6 separate regions of the Homo sapiens genome follow, and regions 1, 2, 3, 5 and 6 are each linked to region 4. The links are contacts of gene promoters, found by promoter capture Hi-C in blood cells and fetal thymus (Javierre and others, 2016). All regions are on one chromosome and are shown on one strand. Each heading gives the region's core, a stretch centred on a gene start or on the middle of the fragment in contact. The rest is flanking DNA. Distances are from core to core; before and after follow the strand shown. Region 1 overlaps PITPNC1 (phosphatidylinositol transfer protein cytoplasmic 1). Region 2 overlaps BPTF (bromodomain PHD finger transcription factor). Region 3 has its middle 25 kb from the start of BPTF. Region 4 holds the start of PSMD12 (proteasome 26S subunit, non-ATPase 12). Region 5 overlaps HELZ (helicase with zinc finger). Region 6 has its middle 8.3 kb from the start of SNORA38B.

What was found. Contacts are between HindIII fragments. The CHiCAGO score rates a contact against its expected background, and 5 or more counts as called.
Region 1: a contact is called between a fragment that was not itself captured here and the fragment with the promoter of PSMD12 in region 4, in 14 of 17 cell types (naive CD4 T cells, total CD8 T cells, naive CD8 T cells and 11 more). The highest score is 21.7, in naive CD4 T cells.
Region 2: a fragment that was not itself captured here is called in contact with the fragment with the promoter of PSMD12 in region 4 in 8 of 17 cell types (naive CD8 T cells, naive CD4 T cells, megakaryocytes and 5 more); the score reaches 7.8 in naive CD8 T cells.
Region 3: a contact is called between a fragment that was not itself captured here and the fragment with the promoter of PSMD12 in region 4, in 3 of 17 cell types (erythroblasts, megakaryocytes and naive B cells). The highest score is 7.6, in erythroblasts.
Region 5: a fragment that was not itself captured here is called in contact with the fragment with the promoter of PSMD12 in region 4 in 1 of 17 cell types (monocytes); the score reaches 6.5 in monocytes.
Region 6: a contact is called between a fragment that was not itself captured here and the fragment with the promoter of PSMD12 in region 4, in 8 of 17 cell types (megakaryocytes, naive CD8 T cells, M1 macrophages and 5 more). The highest score is 9.6, in megakaryocytes.

The regions. Positions count from the first base shown.
Region 1 is chr17:67,667,767-67,671,251 of GRCh38, reverse strand. It overlaps PITPNC1 (phosphatidylinositol transfer protein cytoplasmic 1), which reads right to left. Exons shown (of 9, transcript NM_012417.4): 7 at 1,589-1,744. Among named protein-coding and RNA genes, the nearest start is that of NOL11, 48 kb to the left of the region's middle. The HindIII fragment of the contact is 7,066 bases long and covers 1-3,485 here.
Region 2 is chr17:67,860,042-67,863,446 of GRCh38, reverse strand. All of the region lies in intron 2 of BPTF (bromodomain PHD finger transcription factor), which reads right to left. Among named protein-coding and RNA genes, the nearest start is that of BPTF, 36 kb to the right of the region's middle. The HindIII fragment of the contact is 3,407 bases long and covers 1-2,957 here.
Region 3 is chr17:67,798,233-67,801,811 of GRCh38, reverse strand. No RefSeq gene overlaps it. Among named protein-coding and RNA genes, the nearest start is that of BPTF, 25 kb to the left of the region's middle. The HindIII fragment of the contact is 4,398 bases long and covers 1-3,500 here.
Region 4 is chr17:67,364,596-67,368,286 of GRCh38, reverse strand. It overlaps PSMD12 (proteasome 26S subunit, non-ATPase 12), which reads left to right and starts at 1,710. Exons shown (of 11, transcript NM_002816.5): 1 at 1,710-1,875. The coding sequence starts at 1,768. RefSeq lists enhancers at 1,505-1,814, 1,835-1,894. The HindIII fragment of the contact is 3,672 bases long and covers 1,029-3,691 here.
Region 5 is chr17:67,103,785-67,107,476 of GRCh38, reverse strand. HELZ (helicase with zinc finger) reads left to right here. Exons shown (of 33, transcript NM_014877.4): 31 at 1-308. Among named protein-coding and RNA genes, the nearest start is that of CACNG1, 61 kb to the right of the region's middle. The HindIII fragment of the contact is 4,509 bases long and covers 1-3,692 here.
Region 6 is chr17:67,747,106-67,750,932 of GRCh38, reverse strand. No RefSeq gene overlaps it. Among named protein-coding and RNA genes, the nearest start is that of SNORA38B, 8.3 kb to the right of the region's middle. RefSeq lists a silencer at 3,406-3,700. The HindIII fragment of the contact is 6,806 bases long and covers 1-3,827 here.

The DNA.
Region 1 (3,485 bases), core at 32-2,531, 300 kb before region 4:
ATGTTAGAAACCCTGAGAAAATATGACTCTTCACCAAGTGGGATTCTGCTACAAAATGAACATGCCGGCCGGGCACGGTGGGTCATGTCTGTAATCCCAGCACTTTGGGAGGCCGAGGCAGATAGATCAGGAGGTCAAGAGATCGAGACCATCCCTGCCAACATGGTGAAACTCCATCTCTACTAAAAATACAAAAATTAGCTGGGCATGGTGGCGTGCGCACCTCCCAGTAGTCCCAGCTACTCGGGAGGCTGAGGCAGGATAATCACTTGAACCCGGGAGGCAGAGGTTGCAGTGAGCTGAGATTGTGCCACTGTACTCCAGCCTGGCGACAGAGTGAGACTCCGTCTCAAAACAACAGCAGCAGCAACAACAACAAAAAACCAAAATGAACATGTTTAGCCAAAGTAGGTTTACAATTGAAATCTGCATCCCGAGGCTGTTAACAATTATTTGGTAACAGAATTATTCTTATTATTTCCTTTTTTTTTTTTTTTTTTTGAGATGGAGTCTTGCTCTGTCACCCAGGCTGGAGTGCAGCAGCACGATCTTGGCTCACTGCAACCTCTGCCTCCTGGGTTCAAGCAATTCTCCCTGCCTCAGCCTCCTGAGTAGCTGGGATTATAGGCACGTGCCACCACACCCGGCTAATTTTTTTGTATTTTTAGCAGAGACAGGGTTTCACCAGGTTGGCCAGGCTGGTCTCGAACTCCTGACCTCAAGTGATCCACCTGCCTCAGCCTCCCAAAGGGCTGGTATTACAGGCATGAGCCACCACACCTGGCTACTTTAGTAACAGAATTATTAAAGAAGCAGAAATGCTGGGGTATACTGTCTAATGGGACTATTGGGATTTCTTGTTCTACCTCTGGGCATCTTCTGCTTAGGTGCTTACATTTGTAGATCTTTTGGGTGGCAATTAACCTTAGGGGCTGTGCTCACAGATAAGCCCTTTGGCTGTTTCCCAAGTTTCTCTGTCTGGGAGTAGATGAGTCCAATACCAAACTGAGAAGTGTGTTTCCCAAATACGCTTGCCTAATAGACATGGAGGTCACAGAATGAGAGATGGGGCATAAAACATCTATTAGTGGAAGAAAATTGAACCTATGCATAAAATGCATTTTCATCCAAAAAGTATTTTTTATTTTTTTATTTTTTATTTTTATTTCTTATTTTTTGAGACAGAGTTTCTCTCTTATTGCCCAGGCTGGAGTGCAATAATACGATCTTGGTTCACTGCAATCTCTGCCTCCCGGGTTCAAGTAATTCTCCTGCCTCAGCCTCCTGAGTAGCTGGGTTACAGGCACCCACCACCATGCCCAGCTAATGTTTTTGTATTTTTAGTAGAGACAGGGTTTCACCATGTTGGCCAGGCCGGTCTTGAACTCTTGGCCTCAAGTGATCTACCCGCCTCGGCCTCCCAAAGTGCTAGGATTACAGGTGTTGGCCACCCCAACCGGCCCAAAAAGTGTTTTTGAGATGCAGTGACCTGATGTATTTGTGCACCTGTTGTGTATCATGGACTCCAATTTGGCAATATAGACAGTTACCTTGTCCACAGCCCAGGAACTGCTGTTGGACCACTTACCTTGTGTACAAATTGTTCCACTCTGGTCTGAAGCCCCCAGACCTCAAACTTCACAGTCACCAGCTTGTAGGAGCACATGATAGGCTGATGACTATCTCTCCAGCCTTCCCTCAACTGTCCCCGTCCTGTCTTCTCTGACTTGAAGTGCTTAGGATCCTAGAAAAAAAAAAATCAAAGAAATTGATATATTAAAAGTTTGACCATCATTATTAAATGTCAGGAATAAGTATTAAATAACATAGAAATAGGGCTGGGTGTGGTGGCTCACGCCTGTAATCCCAGCACTTTGGGAGGCTGAGGCGGGCGGATCACCTGAGGTCGGGAGTTCAAGACCAGCCTGACCAACATGGAGAAACCCCATCTCTACTAAAAATACAAAAATTAGCTGGGCATGGTGGTAATCCCACCTACTGCCTATCATCCCAGCTACTCGGGAGGCTAAGGCAGGAGAATTGCTTGAACCCGAGAGGCAGAGGTTGTGGTGAGCCAAGATTGCGCCATTGCACTCTAGCCTAGGTAACAAGAGCGAAACTCCATCTCAAAAACAAACAAACAAACATAGAGACAGAAAGTAGATTAGTAGTTGACATGGATTGAGGAAAGGAAGGGATGTAGAGTGATTATGAATGGATATAACATTTCCTCTTGGAGTGATGAAAACATTCTGGTATTAGACAGTGGTGACAGTTGCACAACCTTGTGCATATGCGAAAAACCACTGAATTGCACATTTATTTAAAAGGGTGAATTATATTGTGTCTCAATTTTTTCTTTTCTCTTTTTTTCTTTCTTTCTTTTTTTTGAGATGGAGTCTCGCTCTGTCGCCCAGGCTGGAGTGCAGTGGTGCGATCTCGGCTCACTGCAAGCTCCACCTCCCGGGTTCACGCCATTCTCCTGTCTTAGCCTCCCGAGTAGCTGGGACTACAGGTGCCCGCCACCACGCCTGGCTAATTTTTTTGTTTTTAGTAGAGACGGGGTTTCACTGTGTTAGCCAGGATGGTCTCGATCTCCTGACCTCGTGATCTGCCCGCCTCGGCCTCCCAAAGTGCTGGGATTACAGGTGTGAGCCACCGTGCCTGGCCTCAATTTTTTCTTTTCTTCTTTTGTAGAGATGGGTCTCACTATGTTGCCCAGGCTGGTCTCCAACTTCTCACCTCAAGTGATCCTCCCTTCTTGGCCTCCCAAAGTACTGGGATTACAGGTGTGAGCCACCATACCTGGCCTCACGACAGCTTTAAATACAGGAGGCAAAAACTGGAAACAGTCCAAATGTTCATAAGCAAGAAACTAGACAGATAAATTGTGGTCTAGGTGCACAATGGAATACTACACAGCAATGAAAAAGAACAAATGGCTGATACATGCAAAAACGTGTACAACTCTCACTGATGCTATGTTAAGCAAAAGTAGCCAAATGCAATAGCATATACATTGTATGATTCAAATTGAAGTTCAAGAACAAGCAAAACTTTATGTATGGTGATAAAAGTTAGATGAGCAGTAATCTCTTTGGGGGTGGGGGCTTGGTGCAAAGGGACATGAAGGAAACTTCTGGGATGATTATATGTTGACCTGGATGTAACGTGTACACATTCACTGAGTTTTACACTTAAGATTTGTATTATACTTCAATTACAAGAATGAAAAAAACAGGTAAAAGGGTTTTTTTGTTGTTGTTGTTTTTGAGATGGAGTCTTGCTCTGTCACCCAGGCTGGAGTGCAGTGGTTTGATCTTGGCTCACCCCAACCTCTGCCTCCTGAGTTCAAGCAATTCTCCTGCCTCAACCTCCTAAGTAGCTGGGATCACAGGCACCCGCCACCATGCCCAGCTAATTTTTGTATTTTTAATAGAGACCGGGTTTTGCCATGTTGGCCAGGCTGGTCTCGAACTCCTGAA
Region 2 (3,405 bases), core at 5-2,504, 500 kb before region 4:
CAGGAATGGTGGCATGTGCCTGTAGTCCCAGCTACTTGGGAGGCTGAGGCAGGAGAATCACTTGAACCTGGGAGGTGGAGGTTGCAGTGAGCCGAGATCGTGCCACTGCACTCCAGCCTGGGCAACAGAGACTCCGTGTCTCAAAAAAATGAAAAGAAAAAGAAAAGAAGGTAGCATAGAGGCAGCAACTGGAGTGATGTGTCTGTTTGTAAACCAAGAAATGCTAAGGACTGCCAGAAGCTAGGAGACAGGCATGGAACAGATTCTCTTTGAAAGTCTCCAGAAAAACCAACCCTGCTGACCCATGATTTCAGACTTCTGGCCTCCAGGACTGTGAGACAATAAATTCATATTTTTTCAAGCCACCCCATTTGTGGTACTTTGTTATGGTGGCCCTGGAAAACTCCCAACTTTTGGTACGGGAAGTGGGGTGCTGCTGCTAACATACTCAAAAATGTGAAAGTGGTTTTGGAACTGGGTAATGGGAAGAGGCTGAAGAACTGTTAGGTGCTTGATAGAAAAAACCTAAGCTGCCTTGAAAAGATAGTGACAGGGAGATTGGAATTATGCTGCCAGCAAGCCAAGGACACTTGGGGTGCTAGAAGCTAGAAAAGGCCAAAAAAAAAAAAAAAAGCAAGGATTTTTTTCCTAGAGCCTGCAGAGGGAGCATGGCCCTGCTGACACCTTTGAGTTTAGACTTCTATTCTCCAAAACTGTTAAATAATCAATTTCTACTGTTTTAAACTACCCAGTTTTATAGTACTTTTTTTTGGTATAGTACTTTGTTATAGCAGCTGCAGGAAACTGATAAAACTAGCAATTCAGCAATTAAAGACAAAAGCTAGGTCCTAAGCTCTTGGTCAAGCAGCCCAAGTAGTGCTTAGGAGCACACATTCTGGAGCCAGAATGCCTAGGTTCAAATCCCGATCCCACCACTTTGTAGTTGTGTGATCTTGGATAAATTACTTAAAACTCTCTATGCCTCAGTCTCTCCATCTGAAAAATAGGGTGACGGTACATATCCTGGAAGATGCTGTTGTTAGAATTAAATTAATTAAAATATATAAAGTGTTTAGAGTAGTACCAGCACTTCATGGGTATCATATACATAGTTGTCATCATTTTCCTCACCTTATGAAGTGTATAATATTTACCTTAAAACAAGTAACTAGGCCGGGCACGATGGCTCACGCCTGTAATCCCAGCACTTTCGGAGTCCGAGGCAGGTGGATTACCTGAGGTCGGGAGTCCAAAACCAGACTGGCCAACATGGTGAAACCCCATCTCTACTAAAAATACAAAAATTAGCCGGGTGTGGTGGCAGGCACCTGTAATCCCAGCTACTTGGGAGGCTGAGGCAGAAGAATCACTTGAACCTGGGAGGCGGAGGTTGCAGTGAAGCAAGGTTGTGCCACTGCACTCCAGCCTGGGCGACAGAGTGAGACTTGTATCAAAAAACAAAACAAAACAAAAAAACTATTGGTAGGATGGGTGTTTTAAAAAGTAGTATTTCACGATGCAAGAGAAAAAGGGGTTCAGGGAAAGAAAGGGGTGCAGGCAAAGAAATCCCTAGGAAGTAGCATAAATAGGCTGAGACCTCAAGAATGAGCTAGTTAGCCAACAGGTTTTTAGGTGCTTTGGTTTGCTTTTTATTTATGTTGTCTTAAGTGTTAGAAAGCAAGATAATTAAATGTACAAAGTTAGGGATCTGTGCTAAAGAATCTGAAGTTTTGGTTAAGGGCAAATGGAAGTAATTGTAATTAAAAGGTTTTTCAACTTAGGGGAAAAGGAGACTTGATCAAAATTGCTGTTTTAAAAATCATCCAGCTATGGCTGGGCATGGTGGCTCACATCTGTAATCCCAGCACATTTGGAGGCTGAGGTGGGCTGATCACCTGAGGTCAGGAGTTCAATATCAGCCTGGCCAACATGGTGAAACCCTGTCTCTACTAAAAATACAAAATTAGCCAGGTGTGGTGGCGGCCGCCCGTAATCCCACCCACTCGGGAGTCGCTTGAATCCAAGAGGCAGGGGGTTGCAGTGAGCTGAGACTGGGCCACTGCAGTCCAGCCTGAGTGAGACTCCATCTCAAAAAAAAAAAAAAAAGAAAAAATCTTGGAAGGTTGGGGTAGGGGGTTACACTACTTTAGGGGTGACTGACTAGTCTAATGAAGATGACACTGGCTTGTATCACGGAGGGACAGTGGGAATGGAGAGAAACTGATTCAATATTTATTTTAAAGGCATAGCAAACAATAAAGGAAAAAGTTTATTCTCATATTTCTAGCTTGAGCAGCTGGTGGGACAGTAATTCCATTTACTAAGATGAGAACGCTGGATGAAGAGTAGGTAATGGGGGGAAACGATGAGTTTGGTTTTAAACACGTTTGAGGTGCCTGCCTTGCGGACAGGTCCAGGAGTCTGCTGGACATACAGAACTGAACGTGGACAGAAGGAATTCAGGCACGGGAAGTCAGTAAGTTAATATGTGGTTTGTACCTAGAATGGGGAGTAGAAAGCTGTATAGATTTAAAAGCATAGTTTAGTTGATTCGGAAAATGAATACAGATTTTTAAAATGCTGTTTAAAGGCGTGTGGTGGTCCACGCCTGTTGTAATCCTAGCGCTTTGGGAGGCCAAGGCTGGAGGATCACTTGAGCCCAGGAGTTCGAGACCAGCCTGGCAACATAGTGAGACTCTGTCTCTGCAAAAAAATGAAATATAATGCTGTGTTCACGTAATTATATTTAGAATGGAGAGTGACAGAAAAACATGCTAATCTAATCTGGTAATTTCTATTTTAGTAGGTCCTAATTTCAGAGCAAAGGATTGACAGGATAAAAGCAATAGTTAAGAAAGATTGGCCCACTTACATAATGAATGAAAACTGGCCTCTGAGTTATATGCTGAATATGTCTTGGCTTCTCAGATGGACTATAAATTCATGTATAAGAAGCTTTTTTTATTATAAGCTTCACTAATCTATACAAATAACATATTTTTAAGCACTTATTAAATAAAAGCAATAACAGAAAACTTAATTTCTATAAATTGGTAACATTACAATTAAAACCTCTGCATACTATAAACTGCGTGAAAATTCTACATGGCTTTAAAACTATCATGAGGAGTCCACATATAATCTACCACAAAAGTACAGTTAAACTGAAATTATTTTAATCTCATTTTCATAAAAGATGTAAAATCTTTCAGATTTGTCAAAATTGTTGACACATATCACTATGTTTAAAGTTTCCTACTTGATTTTACATAGAAAAATACTCAAAATATCACAGCATGGAAAAAGATAATCCTATTTGCCTGAAATCATCTTTAAAATCTGTGCAGTTTATTATGCATCAAAAAAGGCAATTTGAATGACGACCATAGCTTTTAAAGCAAATAA
Region 3 (3,579 bases), core at 52-2,551, 430 kb before region 4:
AACTGGCCAGGCTGCGGGACATGGGGTGATGAAAGTATGACCAGCCCTTCAATCTAGCCTGCTTGCAGTCTTTTTTTTTTTTTTTTTTTGAGACAGAGTTTTGCTCTTGTCACCCAGGCTAGATTGCAATGGCGCGATCTCGGCTCACAGCAACCTCTGTCTCCCGGGTTCAAGCGATTCTTCCATCTCAGGCCCGCCCTGCTTGGAGTCTTTTTATTAAAGATATCAGATGTGGCCAGGCGTGGTGGCTCATGCCTGTAAGCCCAACTCTTTGGGAGGCCAAGGCGGGTGGATCACTTGAGACCAGGAGGTCGAGACCAGCCTGGGCAATATGGTAAAATCCCGTCTCTACAAAAAATACAAAAATTAGCCAGGCACGCACCTGTAGTCCCAGTTGCTTGGGAAGCTGAGGTGGGAGGATGGTTCGGGCCCAGGAGGCAGAGGTTGCAGTGAGCCTAGATTGCACCACTGCACTCCAGCCTTGGTAACAGAGATCCTGCCTCAAACAAACCAACCCACCAAAGATGTCACATGTATCTTTGCCCTAAAAAACACTCAGTACATTTTGATCAGAAGAGTGTTTAAGCTGTGTCATGGAATAATTTTTTGGGAAGGCTGGATTTGGAAGTTTTATTAAGACATCAAGGTGTAATATTTAAAACCCAGATCACTCTGGACCTGGGAATGGAAGTTAAAAACAGATGTCAAGGCTGGGCATGGTGGCTCACGCCTGTAATCCCAGCACTTTGGGAGGCCGAGGCAGGTGGATCATTTGAGGTCAGGAGTTCGAGCCCAGCCTGGCCAACATGGTGAAACCCCGTCTCTACTAAAAATACAAAAATTAGCCGGGCATGGTGGTGGATGCCTGTAATCCCAGCTACTTGGGAGGCCAAGACAGGAGAATCGATTGAACCCAGGAGGTGGAGGTTGCAGTGAACAGAGATCGTGCCACTGTATTCCAGCCTGGGTGACAGAGTGAGACATATCTAAAAACAAAAAACAAACAAACAAAAAAACCCACAGATGTCAAGATAAGTGTTGAGCAGTTTAAGGAAGTGCAATGTTTTCAGGCTTGGGCAGTGCCCCTGCTCTCTTCCAGGGGCTGATAAAGCGTGCAGCCCAGCCTTCTGAGCTGTGACATCCTCTTCCATTGGGTGATGTTCTTATCCATTTGCCAGACTGGCCTGAGCCTCTGGCCAGCATTTCTAGACCAACAACAGGGGCGCCACCTCCAGGCCAATCCCCATAAGTGTAGTTTTGTGAGCCGGACTGACGTGGGTTATGTTCAGTTCAGACAGTGCGTTCTCAAGCAGAGCAAAGGGTCTGGGTTCCTGGATTAGGAGACCCCTTACCCCAAGCAATTCTAGAATCTAGGATTCGCCGGGTGCAATGGCGCATGCCTGTAATCCCAGCACTTTGGGAGGCCAAGGCGGGAGGATCACTTGAGCCCAGGAGTTTGAGGCCAGCCTGAGCAACACAGCGAGACCCTGTTTCTATAGAAATAAAAAAATTAGCTGGACGTGGTGGTGCACACCTGTGGTCCCAGCTACTGGGGAGGCTGAAGGAGGAGGATCACTTGAGCCCAGGACTTCAGGGTTATACTGAGCTATGATCAAGCACTGTATTCCAGCCCGGGTGACAGAATGAGACGATGTCTCTAAAAAAAAAACAAACAAAAATGGATTTCTTTGCTACCAGCTTCACTGTGTGCTTTGTTTCAGAGATTGAGAACTCTTTCCAAAAACTGACTTCCCTAAAGTCAGCCTAGCCTCATATCCTCAAGGCAAGCTCATCCAGCTTGTATCAAGAAGTCCCCAGCCTGGCCGGGGAGCAGTGGCTCACGCCTGTAATCCCAGCACTTTGGGAGGCAGAGGCGGGCGGATCACGAGGTCAGGAGATTGAGACCATCCTGGCTAACATGGTGAAACCCTGTCTCTATTAAAAGTACAAAAATTAGCCGGGCGTGGTGGCGAGCGCCTGTAGTCCCAGCTACTTGGGAGGCTGAGGCAGGAGAATGGCGTGAACCCGGGAGGCAGAGCTTGCAGTGAGCTGAGATCACGCCACTGCACTCCAGCCTGGGCGACAGAGCGAGAGTCCGCCTCAAAAAACAAAAAAGAAGTCCCTAGCTTTCTCAAGCTGGCAGGAGAAGGACACACAAAAAAGTCTTCAGCCTAAATGACTTACTCTCCTGTGACTCCACAGCAAGAAAACTGGATGATTAACGTCAGTGACCTCATGGTGAAGAAGACAGCATTGCTAGTGATCTAAGTGGCCTTCAAGGGGGGCATTCCCCATTACCTGACAGCTAGGAGTGCTTGGAGCACACTTGGTTCAGCTCATGCCTCCTCGCAGTCTTCAAAGAGTTTGCTTCCCGTATTTGTGAGCTGAGCAGCCTAAACTGTTTGGTAGATATCCTGCCAGCAAGACCACAATGGCAGGGGATGGCAGAGAAGTCCCGCATCCAAAGCACCGTGGCCTGGGAACTCTGCAGGCATGCCGGCTCTGTTGCTGTGAGTCTAAACAGTTCTGCAAGGCCATCATCCAGTTGGCTGAGATCCAAGCCTGCTCAAAGCTAAAAAAATGCACAGGATCGGCTGGGTGCGGTGGCTCACACCTGTAATCCCAGCACTTTGGGAGGCCAAGGCAGGCAGATCACGAGGTCAAGAGATCGAGACCAGCCTGACCAACATGGTGAAACCCTGTCCCTACTAAAAATACAAAAATTAGCTGGGCATGGTGGCATGCACCTGTAGACCCAGCTACTCAGGAGGCTGAGGCAAGAGAATTGCTTGAACCTGGGAGGCAGAGGTTGCAGTGAGCCAAGATCGCGCCACTGCACTCCAGCCTGGCAACAGAGTGAGACTCCATCTAAAAAATAAAAAAATAAGAAAAATGCACAGGTTCCTCCTCCACCAGTATAGCCATCAATGTCCTGGCAGTAGGAAACTGCGCATCAGTGCTGGGACTGGGGAGGACACTACTCAGTATGCCACTGGGCGTCCTTCAAAATCCTAAACATGGGCCCATGGAACTTTTGGTGGCCCTGTGGTCTAGAGATTGTCTCCCAAATTCATCAGTTCTTGAGTTATAGGTACACTGGATAAGGATAGACAGCAATGGTCCTAAAGGCTACTATACCCTCTCTGGGCCCTCTCCATGCCTGTGACCATCACACCATCATGGTACAGGAGGGAGTATCCTAAGATGTCACGTTTCATCCCCCGTACTGGACCTTTCCACCTGGTGCCTGGTGAAATGCGTCAATTAAGTTCTAGAGAACGCTCTGCTTCCTGACCACTGGGAAACACAGGACACCACCCGCCTTTATTCTGCAAAATTTGCATAGAGTTCACTACATTCCCGTGTCTAAAACACACTGACACATCAGCCATGGCCTCCATTCCTTGTACCTTCTAAATCATCAACCACCGTATAAGCAAACGGCTAGGACCTTAAGTGCTTGCACCTAAGGGATGCAGATCAGAATCATCTGAGAAGCTTTTAGGCCAGGTGCGGTGGCTCATACCTGTAATCCCAGCACTTTGGGAGGCTGAAGCAGGCAGATCACTTGAGATCAGG
Region 4 (3,691 bases), core at 461-2,960:
ATAAGACCCATCTGATGGACTATAAAATAAAAAAAAAACAATAAGAGCTTTACCAAGAAGTGGCTTGTTGCTCACCATTTTGGAAAATGTCACCAACAATAGGCCCTTACCATGCTTCAGGAACCAAGAGAACACACCTGTTGCAGTTGCAGCTTTTACATTTATAGTTATTGTGTATGGGTGTAAATAACTACTTCCTTGTATTTTCCACTGTAGACATGTTTTAGCCCTTATCTCTTGAAATATATATTATTTTGCTATTTTAAAATTTGTTTCTTGGTTGGGCACAGTGGCTCACACCTGTAATCTCAGCACTTTAGGAGGCCAAGGTGAGAGGACTGCTTGAGGCCAGGTGTTTGAGACCAGCCTGGGCTACGTAGTATAGCTGCTATCTCTACAAAAATAAAAAAAAGGTAAAATTTGTTTCTCCTCTACATTACAGATTATAGCTGAGATATTGTCTTATTTTGCTTGTAGATGGTTTATATTTTCCCTGATTTTCATTGCAGTTAAAACAAACAAAGAGATCTATTCAGCATCTATAAAGCGATGTCGGCACTAATTAAATTGAGAACCACTAACATAATAGATAAACCACTCCAAGATTTCCCGTTTTCCTGTTTGCTTTCCAGGCTGCTGTTGACCATATGCCCACACCAAACACAACCTCATTCCCATTTTCTTTACTTTTCTTTTTCTTTTTTTTTTTTTTTTTTGAGACGGAGTCTTGCTCTGTCGCCCAGGCTGGAGTGCAGTGGCGCAATCTCGCCGGCTCACTGCAAGCTTCGCCTCCTGGGTTCACGCCATTCTCCTGCCTCAGCCTCCCGAGTAGTTGGGACTACAGGTGCCCGCCACCACGCCCGGCTAATTTTTTGTATTTTTAGTAGAGACGGGGTTTCACCGTGTTAGCCACGATGGTCTCGATCTCCTGACCTCATGATCCGCCCGCCTCAGCCTCCCAAAGGGCTGGGATTACAGGCGTGAGCCACCGCGCCCGGCCTCATTCCCATTTTCAAGGATCCTAAGCTTTTTTAAGATCTCAAGCTATTTTCTAGGGACCAGCATGGTATGAATGATAACACATAAAACGTGTAAGGCCCTTAAGAATTGAAATTGTCTCACATGTCATCTAGTTTGATGCTCACGAAAATCCTATAGGGATAACAAATATGTCTTTTTAACTTTTCTTTTTACCAACTTAGTGGATTACAGTGAAAATGAAAACAAAGAGAAAAACCACTTTGCTTATTAAATGACTGAGCTGCTGCCATATCTTCTCTTAGGAGCTTTCAGAGATCCCACAGAGTAAGCCACCAAGATTCTCAAGTAGATAAAACCTTAGAATTTTCTATTTTAAGGTTTATTTTAGCCTCCTGATGTAGAGATGAGAAAACCGAGATCCAAGAAAAGCGACTGGCCACGGTCCTGAGAAATCATATTTCGAAGCAGGGGTGTAGGGATATATGAGATGGTCTGTTCTATTACACTCGCTTTTCTCATCGCAAATTTTAGGTAAAAAGTCTGATGTTCCCAGAGACAAAACCTGACGCTGCAGGCTGGAGTGGCGAGTCCCGCCCCGCGCGCCTCAAGCCCCACCCCCAGGCTGTCCGCGGCAGTGCCTGAGTGGCAACCAGCGCCGGGGACCTCGAGGGGTCCTTTGCGTGGGCTCCCGATGGGCTGCCTGAGCGGGTGCGCGGGCAACTTCCGGTGTGGGTGACGAGTGGTGGCCGAAGCAGGGGGACAGCAAGGGACGCTCAGGCGGGGACCATGGCGGACGGCGGCTCGGAGCGGGCTGACGGGCGCATCGTCAAGATGGAGGTGGACTACAGCGCCACGGTGGATCAGCGCCTACCCGAGTGTGCGAAGCTAGCCAAGGTGAGGAGAGGCCGGCTGGCTGTTGGCGGGCGCCAGGGGCTGAGTCACGGCGCGGAGCCTGCTTAGGCCTCAGGGGGCCTGCGGGCTGGAGCGTGCACCCCCCAATGCCTGTCCAGCCCTAGTTGGGCCTGCACGAGTGGGAGACCCCAGGTCGGCCCGGCCAGGGCTGCGGAGTACGCCAGCGCCTATAGCTTCCCAGACCCTCCCCAAAACAGATGGTCACTTCCCTCCGTGGGACTTAGGGCTCCGTTTAACTTTTTGCCGTTTCTTGGATGCTGTTTAAGTGATATTTACCTTAGTAGTTTCCCAGGGGTTAAGGCCGCTTCAGTATTAAGGCTAGATCAGAGAGTTTCGTTCTGTTGCTGTTGCTCAATCAATTTATGTCGTTACATCGTTTGTGGATCATGGCTATGTGCCTGGTCTTTGGCCAGGAGAAGGGGCAGGAAAGTGATAGTACGAAGATGACTAACACAGGACCCTGTCCTTTAGGAGTTGATGTACGTGATGAATTAGTCAAGTCATGCATGGTGGTGAGGGCCATACAAGGGGAAAGTGTTACTGGAACACCGAGAAGGAAGCTATGCATTCTTAATGGTGCCATAAGGGAAGGTTTTACAGGAAGGCTGACGTTTGTATTGGGTCTTGAGGAATTAGTAAGATTGAGGTGGGGTGGAGTCATTACTGAAGACGGAACTACAGAAGTAAAGACAAGTAGGCACTATAAGAGTTTAACGGGCTTTCCAAGAAACAAGGATGGAGAAAGGTGATAAAGTTGGTACGTATGTATATCTTAGGTTCAGTATGCTTGCTGAGGGGGAGCCACAAATTCATTAAGAGCTTTCTAGCAGCTAGCATCAACAAACATCAGTTACATAAGGGTGGGAAAACTCAGCCGCCTCCAATGCCAGACAGATAACAATAACTGATATTTGTTGAGTAGTTTCTGCAGTGTCAGGCACCGTGCTTACATGCACTAAGCCATTTGATCCTCACCTCAGCCCTATGCGATGGCTATTACTATTATCCTTATTTTACAGGTAAGAAAACTTGGGCTAGAAAAAGTTGAATCACATGCCCCAAGATCATACAGCTAGTAAAGTGGTGAAGCCAAGAAGCAAACCCAGGCAGACCGATTCTAGATTCTGGAGCTGGTGCCCTCACACACCATGCTGTCCTGCCTAGAAGCCTATTGTAGTGAAAACCTGAACTTTTTTTTTTTTTTTTTTTGAGACGGAGTTTCACTTTTTTCACCCAGGATGGAGTGCAGTGGCGCAATCTTGGCTGACTGCAACCCCCGCCTCCCGGGTTCAAACGATTCTCCTGCCTCCGCCTCCCGAGTAGCTAGGACTACAGGTGCCACCACGCCCGGCTAATTTTTGTACTTTTAGTAGAGACGGGGTTTCACTACGTTGGCCAGGCTGGTCGCACGCGACCTCCTGACCTAAAGTGATCCACCCACCTCTGCCTGCCAAAGTGCTGGGATTACAGGCGTGAGCCACCGCGGCTGGCCAAAAACCTGAACTTTCGAGCACCTGCCCAGGAAAAGGAGACGGCAGATCTTCACCTTCAGATAATCTTTGCCAATTGGGGATGAAGGCCGAGTATTGTCGATGCTGCTAATTTGAGGGAGAAACCAGGAAGATGAATTTCTCATTAAATACCTTAATATTTAGAAATTGGATACTAATCTGTCATATTAAAATACTATTTGAGCCAATACAATGTAGCTAGAACAAAACATACAGGCCAAGGTCAGCCCCTGAACCTCCACTTTGGAATTAATAGAATGATAGTGTCCATAAGGAAGAAACAAGTA
Region 5 (3,692 bases), core at 740-3,239, 260 kb after region 4:
GCAACCCAGCATTTCCACAGCGCCTCCCACCCCAGATATTCAACTCACCTTTCTCGTTGCCATCTGAACACCTTGCCCCTCCTCCCTTGAAATACCTGGCACCTGATGGAGCATGGACTTTTGCTAACTTGCAACAGAATCACCTAATGGGGCCAGGTTTTCCCTATGGCCTACCTCCATTGCCTCACAGGCCACCGCAGAACCCTTTTGTACAAATACAGAATCATCAACATGCTATTGGTCAAGAGCCATTTCACCCATTGTCATCTCGAACAGTATCTTCTTCTTCGCTCCCTAGCTTAGAAGAGGTAAATGTCTTCTTATTTTCCTTTTGTTATTAGCTGATTGTGAAAAATATCAGTATTTATTGATTTGATAATAGGAAGGCACAGATCTTATTGAATTTAACAGCGTATTAAAGATAATCCTTTCTTGGGAATTATTTTAATTGCCACCCTCCTATTGTATTTCAGGTTTTGTAAAGTGGACACTTTTGTTGAAACATGAAGCCCCTTAAAAGTCTTTTATTGCTGTTTAAAGAAAATATTGAATATCTGAGGACTCTATTCAAGGAGCTTTGTCTTTTTTTAATCTGAGGAAATGGCTTTTAGTGATTCTTCTTTTCGCTTTAAGTTACATGTGTTAATTATAAATTTGTTAATGAGAACTTTCCAAAGATGCTGGCTTTTCAGCCAGTGCCAGCTCCAAGTGCTGTGCTCCTTCTCCTGCCACTCAGCCTGGTGCTTTGTTAGACCCAGGGACTCTGATTCCCAAATATCAGAATTTGCAGATTTTTAACATAAAATTGACTGTGCTAAACTAAGCATTTTAAGTTAAACTGAATTTTATCTTAAAATACTTAGATATTTCTGCCGGGTGCAGTGGCTCACGCTTGTAATCCCAGCACTTGGGGAGGCCGAGGCGGGCAGATCACGAGGTCAGGAGATCGAGACCATCCTGGCTAACACGGTGAAACCCCGTCTCTACTAAAAATAGAAAAAATTAGCTGGGCGTGGTGGCGGGCGCCTGTAGTCCCAGCTACTCGGGAGGCTGAGGCAGGAGAATGGCGTGAACCCGGGAGGCTGAGCTTGCAGTGAGCCAAGATATGCCACTGCACTCCAGCGTGGGCGACAGAGCAAGACTCTGTCTCAAAAAAAAAAATAAATAAATAAAGTAAAATACTTAGATATTTCTAAAGAGCATCTTTATGGACTTTTTTTTCCTATGAAAAACTTAGTAATTCCAGGTTATAAAACTTCCAAAGCAGTACCATGTGGTGTAGGCTACAAAAATGTCTAGCTGATCCCATTAAATTTGCAGTGATTAAAGATAAAAATGTGTAAAGCCGGTTGTAGTCATATCAGACAGAGACATCTTAAATCAGGATAAAGATTTCTAATTTTGATATATGAAAAATACTTTTTTGATATTAGCTTCATTTTGGCAGTTTCAGAATGATATCTAAAGGCCATTAGAAATAATTGATTCACATTTTACAAGTTGCCTGCTATAGATGCTAATTAAAAGTCAAGATTCATAGGGAAAGCTGTATGTCTTATTTGTAGGGATTTAGAGGCAGTCTGTTCAAATTGTCCCAGTATTCATTGATTGGCTCATTCTGTATAGCTGTCATTAAAACAACTTACTGTGATTTTAGGCTCTTAAAGTAAGTTAGAAGCACAATAAAGATGAATTGGTATCTACATATATGTATTGTGAGGATCTAGAATTTTGGAACCATACTTTACAAAAATTTGGCACACATCTGACAGTCTTTCAGATTATAATGAACAGTAGTTTTACAACTGATCAGTAATGTAATTTTCAGTTAAGTGATGTTTTAGCTATTTATAATAAAATTCACATAAAAGTCACCATTTTAGCCATTTTAAATTGTACAATTTGGTGGATTTTAGTGTATTCACAATGTTATACAGTCATCACTACTGTCTAATTCCAGAACATTTCATCACCCATAAAAGAAACCCCATAACTGTTAAGCAATTACACCCCAATTTCCCCACTCTCAGATTAGTAACCACTAATCTACTTTCTGTGTCTATGGAGACATTTCATAAAAATTGAGTCATACATTATGTGGCCTTTTATATCTGGCTTTTGAAGTGCATCCACACTGTAACTTAGGAGTGGAGTTCTTGGGTGATGTAGTAAGTCTATGTTTAACTTTTTGAGGAACTGCAAACTGTGTTCTCTGCACATTTATATTCCCACAGCTATGTATGAGGATTCCAATTTCTCTATATACTCGCTTTGTAAAAAAAATTATAACCATCCTAATGGGTGTGTAGTAGGATCTCATTGTAGTGTTGTTTGTTTGTTTTTTGACACGGAGTCGCACTCAGTCGCCCAGGCTGGAGCGCAGTGGCATGATCTTGGCTCACTGCAACCTCTGCCTTCTAGGTTCAAGCAATTCTCTTGCCTCAGGCTCCTGAGTAGCTGGGACTACAGGCGCCCACCACCACACCCAGCTAATTTTGTTGTTGTTGTTGTTGTATTTTTAGTAGAGACGGGGTTTCACGATATTGGCCAGGCTGGTCTCAAACTCCTGACCTCAGGTGATCCGCCCCCAGCCTCCCAAAGTGCTGGGATTACAGGCGTAAGCCACCGCGCCCAGCCCTCACTGTAGTTTTGATTTGCATTTCCCTATTTACTGATGATGTTGACATCTTTGCATGTGCTTCTTGGTCATTTGTATCTTTTTTGGAGAAATGTCTATTCATATGCTTCAGCCATTTAAAAAAATGGTTATTTTTTTGTTACTTAGTTATAAGAGGTTTTTTTTAATGTATTCTGGTACAGACTCTTAATCTCATATATGATTTGCAATTATTTCTCTCACTGTGTGGGTTGTCTTTTCACTTTCTTGATAGTGTCCTTTGATGCTAAACTACAATTTATCTATTTTTTTCTTTGGCTGCTTATGCTTTTGGTGTCATATCCAAGAAACCCTGGCCTAATCCAAGATGGCAAAGATGTACTTTTACATTTCCTTTTTATAGTTGTTTGTTTTTTTTTTTGAAATGGCGTCTCGCTCTGTTGCACAGGCTGGAGTGCAGTGGCGCCATCTCGGCTCACTGCAAGCTCCGCCTCCCGGGTTCACGCCATTCTGCTGCCTCACCCTCCGGAATAGCTGGAACTACAGGTGTCCACCACCACACCCGGCTAATTTTTTTTGTATTTTTTTTAGTAGATACGGGGTTTCACCATGTTAGCCAGGATAGTCTCAATCTCCTGACCTCGTGATCTGCTCGCCTCGGCCTCCCAAAGTGCTGGGATTACAGGCTTGAGCCACCGCACCCGGCCCCTTTTTATAGTTTTATAGTTTTACCTCTTACACTTGGTTCTTAGTTCTTTGGTCCATTTTGAGTTAATTTTTGTATATTGTGTGAGGTGGGTATCAAATTCATTCTTTTGCATGTGGCCATACAGTTTTCTCAGCACCGCTTTTGAAAAGACTCCTTTCCCCCATTGAATAGTCTTGGCAACATTGTCAAAAATCAGTTGACTGTAGATGCTGGGTTTATTTGTGGATTCTCCATTGTATTTCATTTATCTGTGTGTCTGTCTTTCTGCCAGTACCACACTGTATTGTACACTGTAGTATTGTAGTAAGTTTTGGAATTGGAAGTATGAGTCCTTATATTTTGTTCTTTTGGAAGATTGTTTTGGCT
Region 6 (3,827 bases), core at 353-2,852, 380 kb before region 4:
TGTGCTCAGAATAGGGAGTGCTGATTGGTTTGTGGGTAAGCAAAAAAAGGCTAAAACAAAGGCACCACTCAAAGGTGGGCACGACAGTGTAATACACCAATTAGGGAAGGGTATATACATGTAAAACAGGTGCAGGGTGGGGATCAATCAGAGGAAAGTGTGCCAAACAGGAAGACAGTTTCCCAATCCAGTCTGTGGACTTACCCAGGACTTGTAGCTAGGCTTTAAACTGTCTTTGGCTTGAAGTTTGGGTTTCACTGGGGATCTGCCCCTGTCTGCCTAGGGTTTGTCTGCCTCCTGCTGCTATCACCTTGGCATCCCAAAGTACTGTGATTACAGGCCTGAGCCACCATGCCTGGCCAACTTTTGCTTTAATGGAAGGAAAAAAATATTCACAATGTGTTTTCCAGTAAAATAATTTTTCCTTTTTGTTTTTGGTGTACAACATAATCTTTTGATATATATATACCTTGTGGAATGGCTAAATCAAGCTAATTAACATAAATATTACCTCACATACTTATTTTTGCCTGTGGTAGAATACTCAACATTTATTCTCTTAGCAATTTTCGTGTATATAATCTATTAACCATAATCACCATAGATTTTGAAATTGCCTTTGCAGAAATTATAGTAGTAATGGAAGTCTGACATAACTGACTCCATCTTGCTTCTACCAGACTAAGTTGCTTTTGGTCATTCCATTTTTTTTTTTTTTCTTTTTGAGACAGAGTCTTGCTCTGTCACCCAGTCTGGAGTGCAGTGGCGGAATCTCAGCTCACTGCAACCTCTGCCTCCCATGTTCAAGCGATCTCCTGCCTCAGCCTCCTGAGCAGCTGAGATTACAGGTGCCCACCACCACACCGGCAAATTTTTGTATTTTTAGTAGAGATGAGGTTTCACCAAGTTGGCCAGGCTGGTGCTTTTGCTTATTTTTATGCAGAGGCCATAATAGTCCTTCCCTTGAACTAATCTCCTTTGTTCAAAAATTGAAACCAGCCAGGCATGGTGGCTCACGCCTGTAATCCCAGCACTTTGGGAGGCCGAAGCGAGTGGATCATGAGGTCAGGAGTTCGAGACCAGCCTGGCCAACATAGTGAAACTCCATCTCTATTAAAAATACAAAAATTAGCCAGGCATGGTGACACACGCCTGTAGTCCCAGCTACTCAGGAGGCTGAGGTGGGAGAATCACTTGAACCTGGGAGGCGGAGGTTGTGGTGAGCCAAGATCGTGCCACTGCACTCCAGCCTGGGCAACAGAGTGAGACTCTTGTCTCAAAAAAAAAAAAAAAAAAAAAGAAATTGAAACTGAGGCTGGGCATGGGGGTTCACACCTGTAATCTCAGCACTTTGGGAGTCCAAGGCAGGCAGATTACCTTGTCAGGAGTTCGAGACCAGCCTGGCCAATATGACAAAACCCCATCTCTACTAAAAATACAAAAATGAGCTGGACATGGTGGTGCATGCCTGAAATCCCCACCACTTGAGAGGCTGAGGAATGAGAATCACTTGAACCCAGAAGGTGGAGGTTGCAATAAGCCGAGATCACGCCACGGTACCCTTAGCCTGGGTTACAAACCGAGACCTGGTTAAAAAAAAAAAAAAAAGATAACTGTTGAAGCTGGGCGATATGTATGGTATTTGTTAAACTCTTTTTTTTTTTATGTTTGGAGTTGTCTATAATAAAAAGAAAAAGAAGGAACCTACACAAGTTTAAAATACATAATCAGTCTCTGTGAGCTAAAATTTTGTTGACTTTTTGCAGTTTTGTGTTTGTGTCCACCTTTCCTAGGTTTATTATACTATTTTATTGTACATGTCTCTTTGTGAAAGAGGCAATGCATAAATAAAAAGCCTATACCAAAGCTAATAGAAGACTTAAACTTCCTGATTTTCCTAAGGGAATCATGCACTAAACTTGAAAATAGTGCAAACTGAATTCTGTAGAGTATGCTGTTGCATATTATAAGCTATTGTCCAACCCAGTAATGTAAAGTAAAGAAATGGTGCATGTGGTCTATGCAAATCCAAGAACATTTTCTTCAAGTTTATTGTTCTCTAAGTGAATCTTATTTTATTGAGATAGTCTCACTTTGTTGCCCAGGCTGGAATGTAGTGGTGCTATCTCGGCTCACTGCAAACTCTGCTTCCCGGGTTCAAGCAATTCTTGTGGCTCAGCCTCCTGAGTAGCTGAGATTACAGGCATGTGCCACCACGCCCAGCTAATTTTTGTATTTTTTGTAGAGATGGAGTTTCGCCATGTTGGCCAGGCTGGTCTCGAATTTCTGGCCTCAAGTGATCTGCCTGCCTCGGCCTTCCCAAGGGCTGGGATTACAGGTGTAAGCCACTGCGCAAGCCCAAGTTTATTTTACTTCTTTCCTTTTTTTTTGTTTTTTGAGACAGGGTCTTGCTTTGTTACCCAAGCTGGAGTACAGTGGCACAAACATGGCTCACTATAGCCTCAACCTCCTGGGCTCAAACGATCATCTCATGTCAGCCCAAGTAGCTGGGACTACAGGCACGTACCAACACAACCAGCTAATTTTTAAATTTTTGTAGAGACAGGGTCTCCCCATGTTACCCGACTACTGTGGTAGTTACATTTCCTGAGCTTAAGTGATCTCCCTGCCTCAGCCTCCCGAAGTGCTTGGATTACAGGCATGAGCCACTGTGCCCTGTTGGTCCAAATTCATTTTGAAGTAATATAAAACATCTGTATATTAACTATCCCTTACCTGGTGTATAACCAAACAAACCAGAAGAAATAGATGCTGTCAGCTCTGTGGTCTGAACGTATTAAACAAAGCATAACAAATTTGGCACTGACAACCCAAAGCATATGAATTCATCCAGAGATGAAAAGTAGCCAAGGATAATTAGGTTCACATGAAATTAAATTTAGACAAGAATTTCAATTTGTCAATTTACAGGGATTATGCCAATTTAGGAAACTGTAATTACCTCTCATATAGAGCCTCCCCATCCTGGTATTTGTGTTTCTGGGAGAGTAAATCAGTGTCAGTTGCTTGGCAAGTATGGAATTAGAGGGAAGATACTTCCAAGAAAAAAGAATTTCATTTTGGCAACAATGTGCAACTACCAGAAAGATCCCCTCCTCCTTCCTTCAGCTATGAAAGACATTACTGGGACAACTGTGGAAATCAGAATATAGACTGTAATCACTCTAGAGAACAATACTCCATTAATATAAATTTTCTGAATTTGATCGTTGTATTGTGGTCATGCAGAAGATGCCCTTGTTTTAGAGGATTAAGCTGAAGTATTTATGGGATTAAGCTGAAGTGTCTGGATGTCTGCAAATAACTCTCCAGTGGTTTAGGAACGAAAGAAAAAATACAGAGATTAGCAAAGCAAACATGATAAAATGTTACCAATTGGTAAATTTAGATGAAGGGTATATGGGTGTTGTTTTTGCTTGCAATTTTTTTTTAAGATTAAACTGTTCAAAAAAGAACTGGATATATGATCCAGAATGAACTCAACCATAATGATGTCACCAACAATTACAAAGAAGGCTAAGGAGGCAAAAAGCAAATAAATGCCGCATGTTAAGTAGTAATAACCCGTTAGCCCACATTTCCTTCGGAAAACAGATAAGGTTCATAAGAGGAAGTCATTTCCTTTTTTTATTTTTGAGACAGAGTTTCACTCTTGTCACCCAGGCTGGAGTACAATGGCACGATCTTGGCTCACTGCAACCTCCACCTCCTGGGTTAAATGATTCTCCCGCCTCAGCCTCCCAAGTAGCTGCAATTACAGGCGCACGCCAACAGGCCCGGATAATTTTTGGATTTTTAGTAGAGAC